2 separate regions of the Homo sapiens genome follow, and region 1 is linked to region 2. The links are contacts of gene promoters, found by promoter capture Hi-C in human tissues and cell types (Jung and others, 2019). All regions are on one chromosome and are shown on one strand. Each heading gives the region's core, a stretch centred on a gene start or on the middle of the fragment in contact. The rest is flanking DNA. Distances are from core to core; before and after follow the strand shown.

Region 1 (2,700 bases), core at 1-2,500, 220 kb before region 2:
CAATCCAGGTGGAGAACCACCGGTCGGGGGGAGCCGTGATCTTGATGGGGGTGTCCTTGGAGGCCAGCTGCTCCAGCTCCTTGAGAAGCCGGTCATCCAGCCCGTGGAACAGGGTAGTGCCCCCCGACAGCACAATCTCCCCAAAGAGGATCTTCTGGATGTCGGTATCACACTTGGTGATGCTGCTGGAGACCATATTCGAGAGCCCGGGGCTCTGGCTGCCCAGCTGCTGGGGCACGAACAGGGCCTCGGGCGCCTGGTGCAGCGGGTCCCCGAGGCTGATGATGTTCCCGTCGGGCAGCTTGTACTCCCTCAGGACCTCCTCCGGCCTCCGGGAAAGCTCCTTCTCGGGCTCCAAGGCCACGTAGCACAGCTTCTTTTTGATGTCGTCCACGAGACCCTTGTCCAGCTGGCAGGGGAAGGTGTGGCCGCTGGCCAGGAGCAGCTGCATGAGGAGCTCCGTGATGTCCCTGCCCGCCACGTGGAGCTTGGTGACTGCGTGGGGCAGGGAGTAACCCTCAAAGATGGGGACAGTGCAGGTGACCGCATCCCCGCTGTCCACCACCAGGCCCGTGACACAGGCAGAGGCGTAGAGAGCCAGCACCGCCTGGTCCGACAGGTAGAAAGCGGGCACGCCGAAGTTCTCGAACATGACTTCTGCCATCTTCTCACGGTTCTCCCTGGGGTTCAGGGAGGGCTCCGTTGCAAGCAGGGGCTGGTCGCTGGGTTTCACGCCTAGCTCCCACTCAAAGAGGTGCTTCCAGAGTCTCTCCACGTCATCCCACCCTGTGATCAGGCCACGCTCGAAAGGGGAGTGCAGCTGCAGGGCCTCCTGCTTGTACAGGGCCTCCTCCCCCACAAAGTACTTCTTCTGGTTGGCCTCTGCTGAGGGAGCCTGGAATTTCAGGTGCCCCACGATGGAGCTGACCATGTGCCGGGGTCCAAACTCCCCAGACAGGCCCGCTTTGCAGAACCCCGAGCCATTGTCAAAAATCACAGCCGGGGAGTCTAAAGCGTGCGGATTAAACATGCCCGCAGCCTTCCCTTCTCAGCCTCATCAAAATAAAGACCAGCCCTCCAGGGCCGCTTTGTGATGCAATAGGGGATCCCACAGCTCTTCCCACAGCTCTCGGGGTGTCTCAAGGCAGGGCTAGCACCGTGCCCGGGAGCCCTGCATCCTCAGCCGCAGGTCTGCTCTCCCTCCAGGTGGCCTGGGCCTGCTGAGGCCTCTTCCAGGGGGCCAGGGGGTTGTCTCCTAGGTAACAATCTAGCCAAGGCAACGATTGTCCTGAGCCTCAGAGGCCCTGGGGGTGGGGCTCTGAGTCCCCCATCCCCCACAGGGTGAGGTGAGAGAGAGAGAGAGAGACAAGTGCATCCTAGGGCGGTGCTGGACAAGCCTGTGGGCTGAGGCAGAGACTTAGCTTTAGAGTGGAGAGAAGCAGCCCAGCCTGCGTGCACCCTAGAAAACCAGCTTCTCTGGCCCCTGAGCTGCAACTTCTGGGGTGACAACACTTCCCTTTGCTAAGGGGGAAAACCAAGCACCAGGTCGGAGGGGTGTTGTAAGCAGTTCTGTCCCAGCAGGCACTTAGAATGTGCTTTTGAATAGTGATTCCCCCAGGAAGCTCTCAGGGATTTCTCCTCCCTCCATCCCATTAGTCCTGGCTGTCTGTCCCACTGGGTAGACCCTATTCAAAGCCCTCTGGGCTGCTGGCCCTTTGTCCAGGAATACATCTCTGCTCTGGCTTGAGGCCAGCACCCCTCATTCCTCTCTGCAGACTCTGAAGTGCCAGCACACAACAAAGTCCAGCAGCCATAGAGTTGGGAACCCAACAGCCCTGAAGATATGGCCTGCTGGTTTCACATGGGTAGCCTGGATTGCAGCCTGTGACACCTCTCTGTGTCTATGAGCTGCCACACAGTCAGGCCACAACCACAGAGCAATGCTCAGAGGTGACCAGGCCATTAAAGGTCAAGGCCTGAGCATGACCAGGAAGGAGGCACCGGGCCAGGCCAAGGGCACCCACAACAGTGCACGCCCGGCACTCAGACCCCCGCTTTGTCTTCCGCTTGGGGAGAAAGTGGGAGGGGATCCAACCTGGGAACCAGCTTCACTTTTTTCCTAAGGAGGTTGGAGGTGGCCTTGGAGAATGTGAGGTTTATTCTACCTCTCCTGTCATATCCACAATCATGCTCCAGCCCAGCTTGGCCCCCCAGAGTTCTCCCAGAGGACGCCTCCCGGGGTCACTCCCTTCCTGGAGCCCCTCAGCTCCTGCTGGTGGCCCCCTCTGTGTGTCCTGCCTGCCCTGCTGACCCACCAGCAGGCATTAATCCGATGGTGGTGTAGACACATGTTGTAGATGGGCAGTCTAGACACGTGGTACAGACATGTGGTGTAGACACGAGGTACAGACGCATATGGATGTGCCGTGTAGATGCATGGGATAGATGGGTGGTGTAGACACGCGCGGTACACTCGTTGTTGATGTGTGGTGTAGATGTGTCTTGTTGACACGTGGTTTTGTGGGCCCCACTAATCCCTGGGTGGTAGTCAACAAAAACTTGATTATTGAAGGATTTTCCTAGAGGGGACCCCCCCAGAGGGAAACTGAGTCAAAAGCGTGCCAGGGCAGGTGTGGCTCTTAAATCTCCATTTCTCTGGAAACTGTGGCAGCCACCACACAGCTTGCTTGCAGTCGTCTC
Region 2 (2,878 bases), core at 324-2,823:
CCTGGGATTACCTGCATCCAGGTGTGCTGCTCTCAGGCAGGGGCTGTGATCATAGCTCGGGACCCTCCGAGACTTCCAGGCTCATCTGGCCAGTGCCTGTGGGCCCCGGGCAGGGCACTGTGCACAGGGCAGAGACGCAGGGGGCCCATCGGCACTGCTGTGATGGCAACTGTCGCGCAGACCTGCCACCTCTGTGCCCCGGGCTCTTCTACAGCCCTGGTGACAGCCCCACTCCATTACAGCTCTCGCCTAATTAGGGCAATTAAAATGAAAGTAATCAACACCGAGTAATGGGCAATCTCTTAATAAACTGCCCCCACTGCATTACCCGCACAGGCCTTGGGCCCTGGTGAATGTCATGGAGCTGAAGAACTGGGCCAGGCAGCCCCAGCCCTGCTGACCCCCCTGCCCTGCACCCTCAGACTGACCCTGACTGCTCTGCCCACGCTGCAGGGGCTCCACACCCTCCCCAAAGGGCCTGCGGGGCATGTCTCAGGAGACCCAGACATCGAGGGGATCAGGGATGCCACCCCCCACTCCCAAGATCTCCTCCCCCAAAGGGCACCCCCAACCCTGCTTCCCTGAGCCCCACAGAGGAGCCAGCATTGGCCTGGTGTCCGGGCACCTTGGCATCCTGAATTGGGAGGGACCTCTCTCAGGGACGCACCACCCCCATTCCCCCCACTCATGCCTGCCCTCCAGGGCAGCTGCCGGTGGTGGGGTCTCAGCTTCAGGGACCTGAGCCTGCCTCCAGCCACCCCACTCAGTCTTTCTGCTCCTGCGGCATGGGCTGACGGTGGCCACGGGCTGAAGGTGATGTTTCCTAAAATAGTCCCTATGCTGCCACCCCTTCCTCAGCAACAATCAGGGTCCCTGGGCAGTAGGCTCAGGTCATGGCTCCCAGAGCTGCCTCTGGGCCTCAACCCTGTGATGGGGGAGGGGTGTGCCCTCGGCTAATGTGCCCTGCCCTCCCCAGGGCACAGCTGGCTCAGCTGGTGCAGGCAGGACAGGGCTGCCTAAGCCTCTCAGAGGGAGGACGGCCAAGGGAAATGGGCTGGCTGTGCACGGAAGGTCCAGTCCCAGCTGCCGGCACAGGGAACAGCCTGTGGGGAGGTGCCCCAGGACCGGGTGACAGGGCCCTGCCAGAAGAGGAGTGAGGCTGGGCGGTGAGGGGCCCGCATAGCAGCCCAGGCGGAGTTCTGGGGGACAAACCCAGAGCCTGAGTGCACTGGGTGGGCAGGCGGCCCCCACCTGCCTCCAGGAAGCGCCCTCCTCATCTATGTGGAGAGGAGGCTGGGGGCACCCTGGCAGAGCAGGCAGGGTGGAGGCTGGCCCCGGCTATGGGGGGCTGTACCCCACAGGCCCCTTCTCCCCCAACACCCCCATGAACTCAGGGTTCTCTGCTCTGAGGCAGCCCATTGGAGCCTGGCTGGGGCAGTGTGGGTGGGACCTCGGCCTGGTAGCCTCTGGCCACAGCGGGGCGCTGCAGGACAGCCAGGAGACCCAAGGGTGTTGACACTCTCCCGGGAAACCGCAGGCTGTGCCTTCCCCAACCCACACGGGGCGGTCATAGGAGCCCCACCCAGGCCTGGGCCCTCCAGCCAGCCACATCCCTCTGTCCCCCACCACCCACGAGGGAATCTGGGTCCCCAGGGCACAGCCGGCTCAGCCTCCAAGCTGCAGACGAGTGTGAGTGTGTCTGTGTGTGTCTGAGAGCGGATGCTGGGGGCTGCCTGTTTGATGAGGGAAGAAAGGGCTGTGCGGAGCTAGTTCGTCAGGTCAAGTAGCTTGGGGACAGGGAATAGGGGAGTACCAGGGGCTGTCCCTGGAACCTCAACCTCAAAACTGAACCCCCCCACCCATGGGCTGGGGTGGCTCCCCCGACCCAAGGGCCTGGCAGGTGCTCTCGGCGCCCCCCTCGAATGGCCCAGGTGTGAGAGGGTGGGCAGGGGTGTGGTCCTGCGTCCCACTGAGAGGGCTGCCTGGACTGACGGGGGGTGTGCCTTCCTGAGGGGCTCAGGGTTGGGAGGGGCAGAGGGTGGGTCCGGGGTTCCTATTGCTGGGCCCTGACACCTCGGGCCACCGTAACCCTCCCGACATGGACACTCAGGGGTCAGATGTTCTTAGAGGGAACTGAGCTGGGGGAGGCCACTGTCCCATTCTGCAAGGCACGAAACTGAGGCCCCAGAGGTGAACAGTGGGCTGGAAGTTGGCCTGGGACACCTGGTAGGCCCCACCCCACCAGCCCAGGATCCCCCCAGTTTTCACCCAGTGGGGTCTGCACTGACCGTGGGGTCAATGGGAAGGGGTGGAGGTGGCTTGAGGCTGGGCACGGGTGGCCACAGGGCAGGAGAACTGGCCGCCCTCTGTGGACTCACCATGCTCCCCCACCCCCAGGTACTCTGAGGACCAGACATGGGCCCGTCGGGGTCCCAGACATGATGTCAGCCCAGGAGCTCGTGGCCTGCCTCTGCCGGGAGGGGGAGCAGCATCTGGCGCTGGGGGAGCTGCCCCTGGCCACCGCCTTCTACCTGGCTGCATTCAGCTGCCACGCCCCCTCAGCCCTGCAGAGTGTGCGCACTGCCCTGGCCCAGGCTCGGGGGGCGGCGGTGGTGGCCACCCTGGAGTCCTGGTGCCGCGGGGACAGCCAGATCCCCGCCATCCACTGGGACGGCATGGCAGTGGTCTCCCTGACAGGGTCGCTGGCCTCTGCCTTCCTCGGCGCCCTCTGCCCGGACCACCCCGCCGCCATCCTGCACCTGCTGGCAGGTCTGCTGGCCCGCGGGCGTCACGAAGAAGTGGTGCAACGCTGCAGCGCCCTGCTGGACTCTCATGCACAGCAAGTCCTGGAGCTGCGGCTGACCCGCGCCCTCGCCTG

What was found. Contacts are between HindIII fragments. The study calls those that stand out against the background at their distance.
Region 1: the fragment with the promoter of ACTRT2 here is called in contact with the fragment with the promoter of TTC34 in region 2 in 1 of the 25 tissues and cell types used here (H1 embryonic stem cells).

What each region holds. Positions count from the first base shown.
Region 1 is chr1:3,020,017-3,022,716 of GRCh38, reverse strand. It overlaps ACTRT2 (actin related protein T2), which reads right to left and starts at 1,250. Exons shown (of 1, transcript NM_080431.5): 1 at 1-1,250. The coding sequence starts at 1,030. The HindIII fragment of the contact is 18,700 bases long and covers 1-2,700 here.
Region 2 is chr1:2,800,388-2,803,265 of GRCh38, reverse strand. TTC34 (tetratricopeptide repeat domain 34) reads left to right here and starts at 1,573. Exons shown (of 9, transcript NM_001242672.3): 1 at 1,573-1,689; 2 at 2,398-2,878. The coding sequence starts at 2,439. The HindIII fragment of the contact is 12,605 bases long and covers 1-2,878 here.